Linked DNA regions of Homo sapiens: region 1 is linked to region 2. Evidence: promoter capture Hi-C in human tissues and cell types (Jung and others, 2019). All regions are on one chromosome and are shown on one strand. The core of a region is centred on a gene start or on the middle of the fragment in contact, and the rest is flanking DNA. Distances in the headings are between cores, read along the strand shown.

What was found. The method cuts DNA at HindIII sites, captures the fragments that hold promoters and counts their contacts. A contact is called where the count stands out against the background at its distance.
Region 1: the fragment with the promoter of SLC5A10 here is called in contact with the fragment with the promoter of FLII in region 2 in 1 of the 25 tissues and cell types used here (spleen).

The regions. Positions count from the first base shown.
Region 1 is chr17:18,950,673-18,955,411 of GRCh38, reverse strand. It overlaps SLC5A10 (solute carrier family 5 member 10), which reads right to left and starts at 3,247. Exons shown (of 15, transcript NM_001042450.4): 1 at 3,096-3,247. The coding sequence starts at 3,206. The HindIII fragment of the contact is 13,514 bases long and covers 1-4,739 here.
Region 2 is chr17:18,256,676-18,262,153 of GRCh38, reverse strand. FLII (FLII actin remodeling protein) reads left to right here and starts at 3,416. Exons shown (of 30, transcript NM_002018.4): 1 at 3,416-3,526; 2 at 5,135-5,245. The coding sequence starts at 3,464. MIEF2 (mitochondrial elongation factor 2) reads right to left here and starts at 1,492. Exons shown (of 4, transcript NM_139162.4): 1 at 1,417-1,492. RefSeq lists enhancers at 1-562, 563-1,183, 1,805-1,934, 3,544-4,045, 4,045-4,124 and 1 more and silencers at 3,325-3,724, 3,735-3,874. The HindIII fragment of the contact is 13,885 bases long and covers 1-5,478 here.

The DNA of each region.
Region 1 (4,739 bases), core at 1,998-4,497, 690 kb before region 2:
TCGCAACAGCTCTATGAAGCAGGTGCCATGTTACCAATGAGGAAACTGATGGTCTCAGAGATGAAAACACACCCATCTAGCAAGTGGTGCAGCCTGGATTTCAACTCAGGCTCAATCGCAGGGCTGGTCATTTCACATCAGGACACGAGGGGAGCTGGGCTTAGGACAGAGCTACACATGGATGGAGGCTGAGAGAACCAAAGTGAGGTGTAGCTGTATCCTTAATAATGCTGTGAATCCCTGGATCATACTGCACCTGAAGCCCTTTCTATTGCTGGACACAATTACATTTCCTGAATTCTTTTTTTTTTTTTTTTTTTTTTTTTGATACAGTGTTTCACTCTTTTGCCCATGCTGGAGTGCAGTGGCGTGATCTCAGCTCATTGCGACCTCCGCCTTCCGGTTTCAAGCAATTCTCCTGCCTCAGCCTCCTGAGTAGCTGGGATTACAGGCGCCTGGCACCACGCCTGGCTAATTTTTGTATTATCACAAAATAATACAAAAGTAGAGACGGGCTTTCACCATGCTGGCCAGGCTGGTCTCAAACTCCTGACCTCGTGATCCACCCGCCTAGGCCTCCCAAAGTGCTGGGATTACAGGCATGAGCCACTGCGCCCGGCCTACATTTCCTATATTCTTAGAGCTCATTTGAAAGCAGTTTTCAGTCACTTGTTAACAGATACTTTAATGAATGCAAAGGCTCAGCTCAAAGTCCCCTCCTCCAGGAACATCTCTTCCTTAAAGGCCTCCCCCCGGCCCCCGCCAGACTCTCCCAGGCCCACCATCTAAACATCTTTGCAGGGCTGCACCTGCCTGGCTTGCTCTGTCTGCTTCTCCCTGTGGGATGCATCTCCAGCATCCTCCCTGTCTGGTTCTGATCTTTTCTGGATGTGCTCACTGCTCTCTTGCCAGCCGCTCCCAGCTGGGCCAGCCTAGCCTGCTAGGAGGGACAGGGCAGAACTCCTACAGCCCTACTTCCAGGGGCACCAGCCTGCAAACAGCAAGCTGACTCACTAGGAGAGGTGGGTCATGGGCAACAAGGGCTGGTGGCCCAAGTCACTGGGCTACAAAGGGTCTGGCCTCAGGTGCCCAGAACATCTTTCTTAGACGTGCTAGCCAGGACAGCCTTGTCTCCCCTCCTCTTTCCCTCTTCAGATCTTGCCTGGCCCTTACCTCCCCTCATCCAGAAACCCTCCACTGTCTGTTCTGCCCCACGTGGGCACCTCCTCCTCTGAATTCTAGCCACCAACTGTCACAGGAATATAGCACGTTACAGTTTGCAACAGATTTTCACTTCCATTGGACCCTTGCTCCTTGGAACAGCCCTGAGATGTGGGCTGCACAGAAACCCGCATTGCGTGTTTGAGGAAACTGAAGCCCACAGAGATTAAGTGACTTAAGTACACAGAGCAGAGCCGAGACTTGAACTCGGCTTTGCCGATGGCCAGCACTGGGCTACTTGTGAGTTAATATTTAATCACATACAGGTTGAGGAGCCGTTATCCGAAATATTTGAAACCAGAAAAGTTTTGGATTTCGGACTCTTTCAGATTTGGAGATACTTACAGAATACCTGCCAGTTGAACATCCCCAACCCAAAACTCTAAAATCTGAGATGCTCCAATGAGCATTTGCTTTGAGCATCATGTTGGTGTTCAAAATGTTCCAGATTTTGGGTTTCAGATTTTTGAAATCCAACCTGTGATAATTAATTTTAATGACTGCGGCTGCTACTCTTATAATCACCACTGCTACAACTGCCACCACCACCACCACTGCTACCACTGTAGAACCAATGGCAGCAGCAAGGTCTGGTCCTGTGTGGGCCCCTTGATAGCAGACCTCACCCCAGGTAGGTGGTGTCTCCATATAACAGATCAGAACACTGAGGCCCAGGAAGCTGAGGGGACGTGACCAGTCTCCTGTTTGCCAGGCCTTCGTGCTTAGGCCAGGGGTTATGGAAGATAAGAACGGGTACTCGGCCGGGCGCGGTGGCTCACGCCTGTAATTCTAGCACTTTGGGAGGCCGAGGCGGGCAAATCATGAGGTCAGGAGTTCGAGACTAGCCTGGCCAACACGGTAAAACTCTGTCTCTACTAAAAATACAAAACATTACCTGGGTGTGGTAGTGGACGCCTGTAATCCCAGCTACTCAGGAGGCTGAGGCAGAATTGTTTGAACCCAGGAGGTGGAGGTTGCAGTGAGCCGAGATAGTGCCACTGCACTCCAGCCCAGGTGACAGTGCTAGACTCCGTCTCAGTTAAAAAAAAAAAAAAAAAAAAAGAAGGGGTACTCATTCTCCCCAGGAGACTGTCAGGGCTCAGGGATGCCAGGCTGGGGACCTCTGGGGCTTAAGAAGTGGAGCCCAACATCCCCAGGCGCTAAGCGTGGAGCAGGTGACCTGAACCAGGCTGTGTCCACCTTCCCTCAGGAAGGCCTCCACGATAGACCAGAGGAGCCCTTCCCTTGCTGCAGGGCCAGAGCCTCGGTTTCTCCATCTGCACATGAAACAGCCTGTCCCCAGGGGCCCCGCTGCCCCTGGAATCTGTGTGTGGGGTCAGATCTCTGCTCATTTCTCACTGTTATGAAGGGAGAAAGAACCGGCTTATGATCTAGGGCTAGGCCACAGGACATAAATCCCCAGGGAGCTTGTTCAAAATAAAGACCCCCAGTTCCCAGGGCCCTCCCTGCCTCCGGATTCTGATCCAGCAGCTCTGGGGTGCAGCCAGGGAATCCCGGGGAGCCTGTTGTTCAAGCAGACAGGAGTCACTGACACCATGGAGACTGGGACCAGGAGGCTGATGGGCCACACCCAAGGACTCCAGCTGGGCAGCAGCACAAAAGCCCAGTTACCTGTTAGAGAGAATTTCCTCCTCCTCACTTTGCAGATGGAGACGCCATTACCCAAAGAGAGAAACGGGCTTGGTCAAGGTCTCCAAGCAAGTCTACCCCAGGCTGGGAGGAGGACCACAAGGATCACTAGGCCACCAGCTGGGACCAATGCTGACACCACAGGGACATGCTGGACCCCGGTTCCCACCCCAAGCACCAACCCTGAGAGCCCACTTGGCCAACACCACCACAGGTCCCCTTACCCATATGCCCACGGCCACATTCAGAGCAAAATACACAGTGATGACGATGATGTCAGCCACGCTCAGCTGCGTCCCGGGAGTGTGGAGGTCGCTGGTGGAGTTGGCGGCCATGGCTGTCCTGCCGCAGGCACTAGGTATGAGCCCGAGGGACTGAGGGGCAAACCAGGTCAGAAAGGGTTTCCTGGCAGGGAGCTCATTGATCATTAAACCAAGCGGACAGTGGCATCTCCAGCCCATGATGTGGCTGCATGCAGGGCAGCTGCCTCACCATGCAGTTCAGCTTCCTCACCCCATGGTGGGGTGCAGATCCCAGAGCGCAGGAGTCAGGGAGCCTGGGAGAAGCAAGTGGGAGGAGGAAAGGAAGGAGCCTCCTTGAACTCGGAGGGGGCTTGGGGAAAATGAACCGCATTTAGTGGACCCGGAGGCAGCCCAAATAGTCCCAGAAAGGCTGGGTTGCTTAATGGGTGGCTTCACCTATATCTAATTTGTATAAGAAGCATAGAGCGTAGGGACAACCGCCTCACCTCTGAAGATACTGCCGTGGCGGGCAGCCATGTCCTCCCTTGGCCATCGGGCTGTGAGTGGACTGAGCAGGGCTTGGGAGGGGGACACCTGCATTATGGCTCACGTCCAGCCAACACAGCCCAGGCTCAGAGGCAGCCCCATGTCGGACAATAAAGTCCTGCTTCCAGCGTTTCTGCTTTCTTTTTCTAGACCCGTGAAACAGTCCCAGGCCCCTCAACTTGACCATGCATTCGGCCCCCACCCCGGGCAATGTCTGCCTGGGACCACAGAGGGACCCAATATCTGTCACACACCAAGGACCATGCGTGGCTGTTCTGCACATGATCCCATTTCACGGACCATGCGTGGCTGTTCCGCACATGATCCCATTTCACGCTCACAGCAGCCACGCAGAGTAGGCAATGTCTCATCCTAGTCAAGGAAATGGCCATCCGCCATTACGCAGCCATTGAAGGCGCAGAGTAGGATTCAGTGCAGATGTGGCCCCACCGTCTCCACCGCAGTGACAGTGACGAGTTCCATCTGGATTCCATCAGAGTGGGACGCTCGCTCACTAATTCTATCAGTGTACACAGCAGGGCTGGCCGGCAGTCTCACGCCTCTGCTCAGTGACATGACTCGTGACTTTGCAAAGCATTTGCAGTTTAACCAGACATGCAGCACTTCCAGAAGTGTTAATGAGTGAGCGGCTGCCACCAGGAACACGCTGGCCTGCAAACCCAGCCAGCCTGTTACTCAATAACCCTGAGGTGCGGGTAAAAATTAATCCCCTCGGCCAGGAGCAGTGGCTCATGCCCTTGGGAGGCTCATGCCTTTGGGAGGCCAAGGCGGGTGGATCACCTGAGATCAGGAGTTTGAGACCAGCCTGGCCAACATGGCAAAACCTCGTCTCTACTAAAAATACAAAAATTAGCCAGACATGGTGGTACGCACCTGTAATCCCAGCTACTTGGGAGGCTGAGGCAGGAGAATTGCTTGAACTCAGGAGGTAGAGATTGCAGTGAGCCAAGACTGCGCCATTGCAGTCCAGCCTGGGCAACAGAGGGAGACTCCATCTCACAAAACAAACAACAACAACAACAAAAAACAATTAATAGTCCTCACATACAGGACTAGGCA
Region 2 (5,478 bases), core at 2,167-4,666:
GCAGCAGCCTCATCTGAAGGTTCCTACCCAGAGGGCACAGCAGCCCTCTATGATAACCTCTTCAGAAGAGCCCAAAGTCCAGAGAAGACCAACAATTTGGGGCCCCAGCCAGTCTGGGGGACCACTGGGACCAGTTACCCCCAAATCTTGACAGGGTAGCCCAAGAGGCAGAGCTACCAAGTCAGAGCACGGGCAGAGTAAGACGGCCCAAGCTGCCCAGGCAGGCCAATGCAGATGTGCTTGTCAGGGTTGAAGCCCCTTTGGCAGGGCAGAAAGGGCTGCCCAGTGCCTCTGTACAGGGGGCTCTCTGGGCCTCTCAGTCTTGGGACAATGTGTAGGTAGTGGTGGGTGATGCTTCTCAACTGCCGGAAGGCCAAGCAACACAGAAAGTAAGGTGAAGGCCTGGGCCCCAGCCTGTTTGCTCACCTGTAAGATGGCATAGGCAGCAGTGAGGGGCAGATGTGGGCAGCCTTGAAGTGTGTGGCTGGGTGGGGGCCAGCACTTGGGAAGTGGAGGCAAAGATCTCCTAGGGCCCAGTCCACATTCCTCACGTTCTGCGAGGGGGACACTGCCCTCAGGCCCTGGGAGCTGAGAAGGGCTGGGACCTTAGGACATCAGTTAGACACCAAGCAGAACTCTCCCGGGGAGGCCTGAGCAGATGACCATGAGGTCACAGCCTGCCCGGGCACCAAGGACTTCTACCTGCCCTGCCAGAGTGTGGGTGCCAGGGGCCCAGTTGCCAGGTGACCAGATGCCTGGAGTAGCTGAAGCCTGAAGCGCTGTGTGACTCAGCCCCGTACACCCGCCCATTCGCCCCAGACTAAAAATAAGACGGTCTCTGGGGCGATCCCAGGCCAACCGGGTGACCCGCCACGGCCCCAGGGCCGGTTTCAATCTCCTCATCGGTGACTCGGGGATCAATACTGCCACCCGCCCCCAGAGAGACCAGGAATCTACTTTGCAAACTGTAAAGCGCTTTAAATACTCCCAACCTGTCTAAATTGGGACTCAGCCCCATCTCTGGCGGGGTCGCGCAGGCCTCAGTCCACAGCCTTCCAGCTCCGAGAAGCAGGAAAGGGCACGGGTGGCTGAAAATAACCCAAGTTTGCGCAGCGGGGCCCTGGAGGCCGTTTGGCCTTCCCTCCTCCGCCAAACCTGCCTGCCCTGGGCCCGGGCGGAGCAGGCCGCGCAGCAGCCCTAGGTGGGCGGGTGACGCCCCGTTCGCAGGATAAACCAAGAGACCGAGAGGGGAAGGGGGCTGGGCTAGGATTCGAACGCTGCCCTTGGTCCCCCAAAGGTCCCCTCCCCGCCTTCCCCAGCGGTGATCGCGGGCCACGCCCCCGATCTGCGTTCCGTCGCGCGCCAAGCCCCGAGCCCGGTGACCCTGGGGGCCGCCCCGCCGCGCTCCAGCTGTACCTGCGTCGCAGCTTCCGCACGACGACCGGAGGAGGCAGCGGGACCACGGCCCCGGAGCTCAGACCAGCCTGGGAATGGAACGTGAAGGACCCTGGAACCCAACGACTAGGGCCCCGGGGGCAGCCGCGGACTTCGCAGCACGCAGACAAGCAGGCCCTAACTCCAATCGGAGCGCTCGAGTCCAGCGCACAGGTGCCAAAATACTGCGCGGTTCAGCCAATGAAGGGCAGGTCCCGCCCCCCAGCCGACAGCCGCACTCCCTCTGGGGCGGGACTCCCTGACGCAGTCTGGATTTAAAGGTGCAGGGCTGCATTCCGAGACCGCGAACAGGTGACGTGACAGGCGACCCTCCAGGACGTCTGTGCGTTGTAATGTGAGCCTCCGGTGTGGAGGAAGCTGTCTGGGCCCCGTTCCTTCTGGGGACCAGGTAGAGAGGCTGCACATGGCTAGAGGCCCGGCACATCCAACCTCTTAGGTCACCTCTGCGAGAGAGTGTCTTGGTGGCCTCATTCTTACCTGTGGGCCTGAGGGGCACAGCGCCTACCCCTGCCACCTGCTCTGTGCGAGCTTGTGTGGGCCATTCTCCACCTGGGCATCAGTTTTTCTCCTGTAAAATGGGGACACTAGACCCCCTCCTCCCCTGCGAAGGATGGTTGGGCATATAACAGCTGTGGCTCATTTATTGGGGTCCTGCTATGTGTCAGCCAGGGCGAGCCCCCTTGAACAGCAAGGACCAAGACGGATGCTTCTCTTCTGGAGCCTCCCTTTGTAGGGGGGTACGAGCACAGGGGTGCTGACACTAAGTGGGAATAATAACCTGGCGCACAAAACAAAACAAAACGGAATAATAACCTGCCACTCACTGAGCGCCTGCTGTATGCTGCGAGCTACACGTGCATTCTTTGTTAATTTGCTCATGGTGACAACCTTAGAAAGTATTTTACAAATGAGGAAACTGGGTAGGGCGCGGTGGCTCACGCCTGTCATCCCAACACTCTGAGAAGCTGATACCAGAGGATCACTTGAGGCCAGGAGATCAAGACCAGCCTGGGCAACATAGCAAGCACCCCGTGTCTACAAAAAGTATAAATAAGGCCGGGCGCGGTGGCTCACGCCTGTAATCCCAGCACTTTGGGAGGCCGAGGCGGTTGGATCACGAGGTCAGAAGATCGAGACCATCCTGGCTAACACGGTGAAACCCCGTCTCTACTAAAAATACAAAAAAAAAAAAAAAAAAAATTAGCCGGGCGTAGTGGCGGGTGCCTGTAGTCCCAGCTACCCGGGAGGCTGAGGCAGGAGAATGGCGTGAACCCGGGAGGCGGAGGTTGCAGTGAGCCGAGACTGCGCCACTGCACTCCAGCCTGGGCGACAGAGCGAGACTCTGTCTCAAAAAAAATAAAAAATAAATAAAATAAATAAATTTAGCCAGGTGTGGTGGCCTGCGCCTATAATCCCAGGTAGTCGGGAGGCTGAGCCCAGGAGTTCGAGGCTGCAGTGAGCTATGATCACACCACTGCACTCCAGCCTGGGCAGCAGAGCAAGAAGACCCTGTCTCAACAAAACAAAAACAACACATGAGGAAACTAAGTCCAGAAGCAGGAGAGCTAGGACCCGAGGATCCAGGTGTCTCACTACCACCGGTCAGCCAAGTACAGGCACTTCCTGGGCCTCTGCGCCCCGGGGCCGAGGTTTAGAATCTCTCTGAGGTCAGGGCCAGCTTCATGTGCTGCAGCAGCGCAGGTGACGGTGCCTCGACCAGCGGCCGTTACGGCCCCTGCCCTGGGGCGCTGGGACTTAAGCCTGGAGATCGTGGAAGCCTCCAACTCCAGCACAGGGGGGGCCCGCACTCCTTGGTGCCTCCGCAGTCTTCGAACAGACGGGGAAACTGAGGCCCTAAGAGGCCTAAAGCCTACACTTCCCCGCGGAATGCGGCGGGCGCGGGCGGGTTAAAGGGGCGGGGCCGGCGCTGGCCCAGCCCGCGGCTCCCCCCAGCGCCCTCGCCCCGGCGCTCCCTAGCCCGGCGCGGCCCGGCAGCGAGAGCGGCGCCATGGAGGCCACCGGGGTGCTGCCGTTCGTGCGTGGCGTGGACCTCAGCGGCAACGACTTCAAGGTGAGCCGGGCCGGGCGCGTGCCGGGCCTCCCTGCAGGCCTTCTCTTCCGCCCGGCCCGCTTGGCCTCCGCTTCCTGTCCCGCTCGGCTCCAGGCCCTGCGTGTCCCAGGGACTGCGGCCGGGGCGGGGTGGGGCTCTCCCCTGGCCAGGAATGGACCTCCGAGGCCTCCGCCCAGTGCCTGTACGGGGAGACCGAGGCTGGGCAGGCCGGGGACGGACGCTTGGGCTCGGAGTCCCGCCGGGGGCCCGGCCGGGAGCCCCCACCCCGCGTCCGTGTTCTCGGTCTAGGCTGGATGGTGGCCTGGGGATCGGGCGAGCCTCCCCGCCCCTCTGAGGTCACACGCCCAAGCCAGGCCCTGACTCAGGGATGGCTGCCCGGCTGCCCAGGGGCGGGTGTGGAGCCGACTCATCACTGCCCTCTCCCCGCCACCGCCACCCGCCATACTGTGTGATCCTGGGCCTCTCAGATCACTTCCCCTCTCAGAGCCTAGGCTTTCTCAGCCGGTGAAGGGGCTTAAAAGTCTCCTCCTTGGACGCAAGGAGTATAGTGAGATTTGTTGGTGTGGAGAGTGTGTCAGGCCGGTGTGCCAGGTGCTGGGTGGCAGTTGTCTGAGCAGCTGCTGGACTGAGAGAAAAGGGACCGGAGCCCAGCCCTCCGCAGCCAGTGGGTGGGGCGGCGGGGTGGTTCCAGGACTCAAGAATGAGACAGGCATTGCCTGACCAAAGGGGAAGCAGAGAAAGAGAGGGAGGGAGAGCTGGCTGGAGGGTCAGCCTCACCTTCAGGGTGGGTGACTGGCAGGGTCGGCCTGGGTTGTTGGTCTGGGGCTGGGGCCGAGGAGGCAGGTTTTTCCTGCGTTTACCTGCCTGTGTACACACCTTTGACCCCAAGTACAAGTGGCTACACCACTTTTCCCTGACCCCATCCCCACCACCCTAACCTGGGGTCCCCGTTCCTCTTTGCTGAACTGGGAGAGTCCGAGTCACCAGCTGGGAATGTGGCGCTAGGGGGAAAGGAATATCAGCCGCAGGCACTGAAGGCACCTACTGCCCCAGACTTGGTGCCACAAGGGCTGGAGGTGCCGAGGTGGGCGTTCACACACCAGGGGAGTGCAGTGATGCTGGCCTGCCCTGCAGGGTGGGGAGCCACGGTCTCCGCAAGCAAGGGTTTGACCCTGGCCGTGAGTTGCCAGTGTGCTGATGGCAGGATGAGGGCACAGGTGGCGCCTTTGCAAAGGCTTGGAAGGGGGATCCCCCACCCCAGGCAGCCAGTCAGAGTGTGGAATGCTAGGTGAAGGAATTTGAGCCGAGCTAACCACAGAGCCGGATGCTGGGCTTTCACCTGAAACAAGCCAGTTTTGTCCTGGCCCTCCTGGGGCCCAGAATCCAGTAGGAGAGACAAATCTTAGGCCAACACTTTTGTCACGGGGGGGCTTAAAATTCCCATTCTATGGGTGAAGAAATTGAGGCACAATGATGAAATGACTTGTCTGTGTTCTCACAGATGGTGAGAGTTGGTTCTGTGGCTCCCCAAAGGCTCCCATGGGCTGGAGGAGCCATAGAAGGTGGTGAGCAGGGGCTCTGTGCTTCACCTTGACATCCTTCCCCCAGGGCGGCTACTTCCCTGAGAATGTCAAGGCCATGACCAGCCTGCGGTGGCTGAAGCTGAACCGCACTGGCCTCTGCTACCTGCCCGAGGAGCTGGCCGCCCTGCAGAAGCTGGTAAGGGGGTTTGGGCGGGCAGGGGAGGGTCCCTGTGGATGAGCCAGGTGGGCAGAGCCTGTGGAGAAGGCAGACAACTTCTCCAGAGAGAGGAACACCGACAGCTATGAGCAGAGCTGGAAGAAAGGGAGTGGGCACCCTGTCCAGGGAGGTGTGCAAGAAGAGGCCGGGTGAGTGAGGGAGGGAAGCTGCAGGGGTAGTTGGGCCAGTGTGGCTGAGGCCTTCCTGGATGG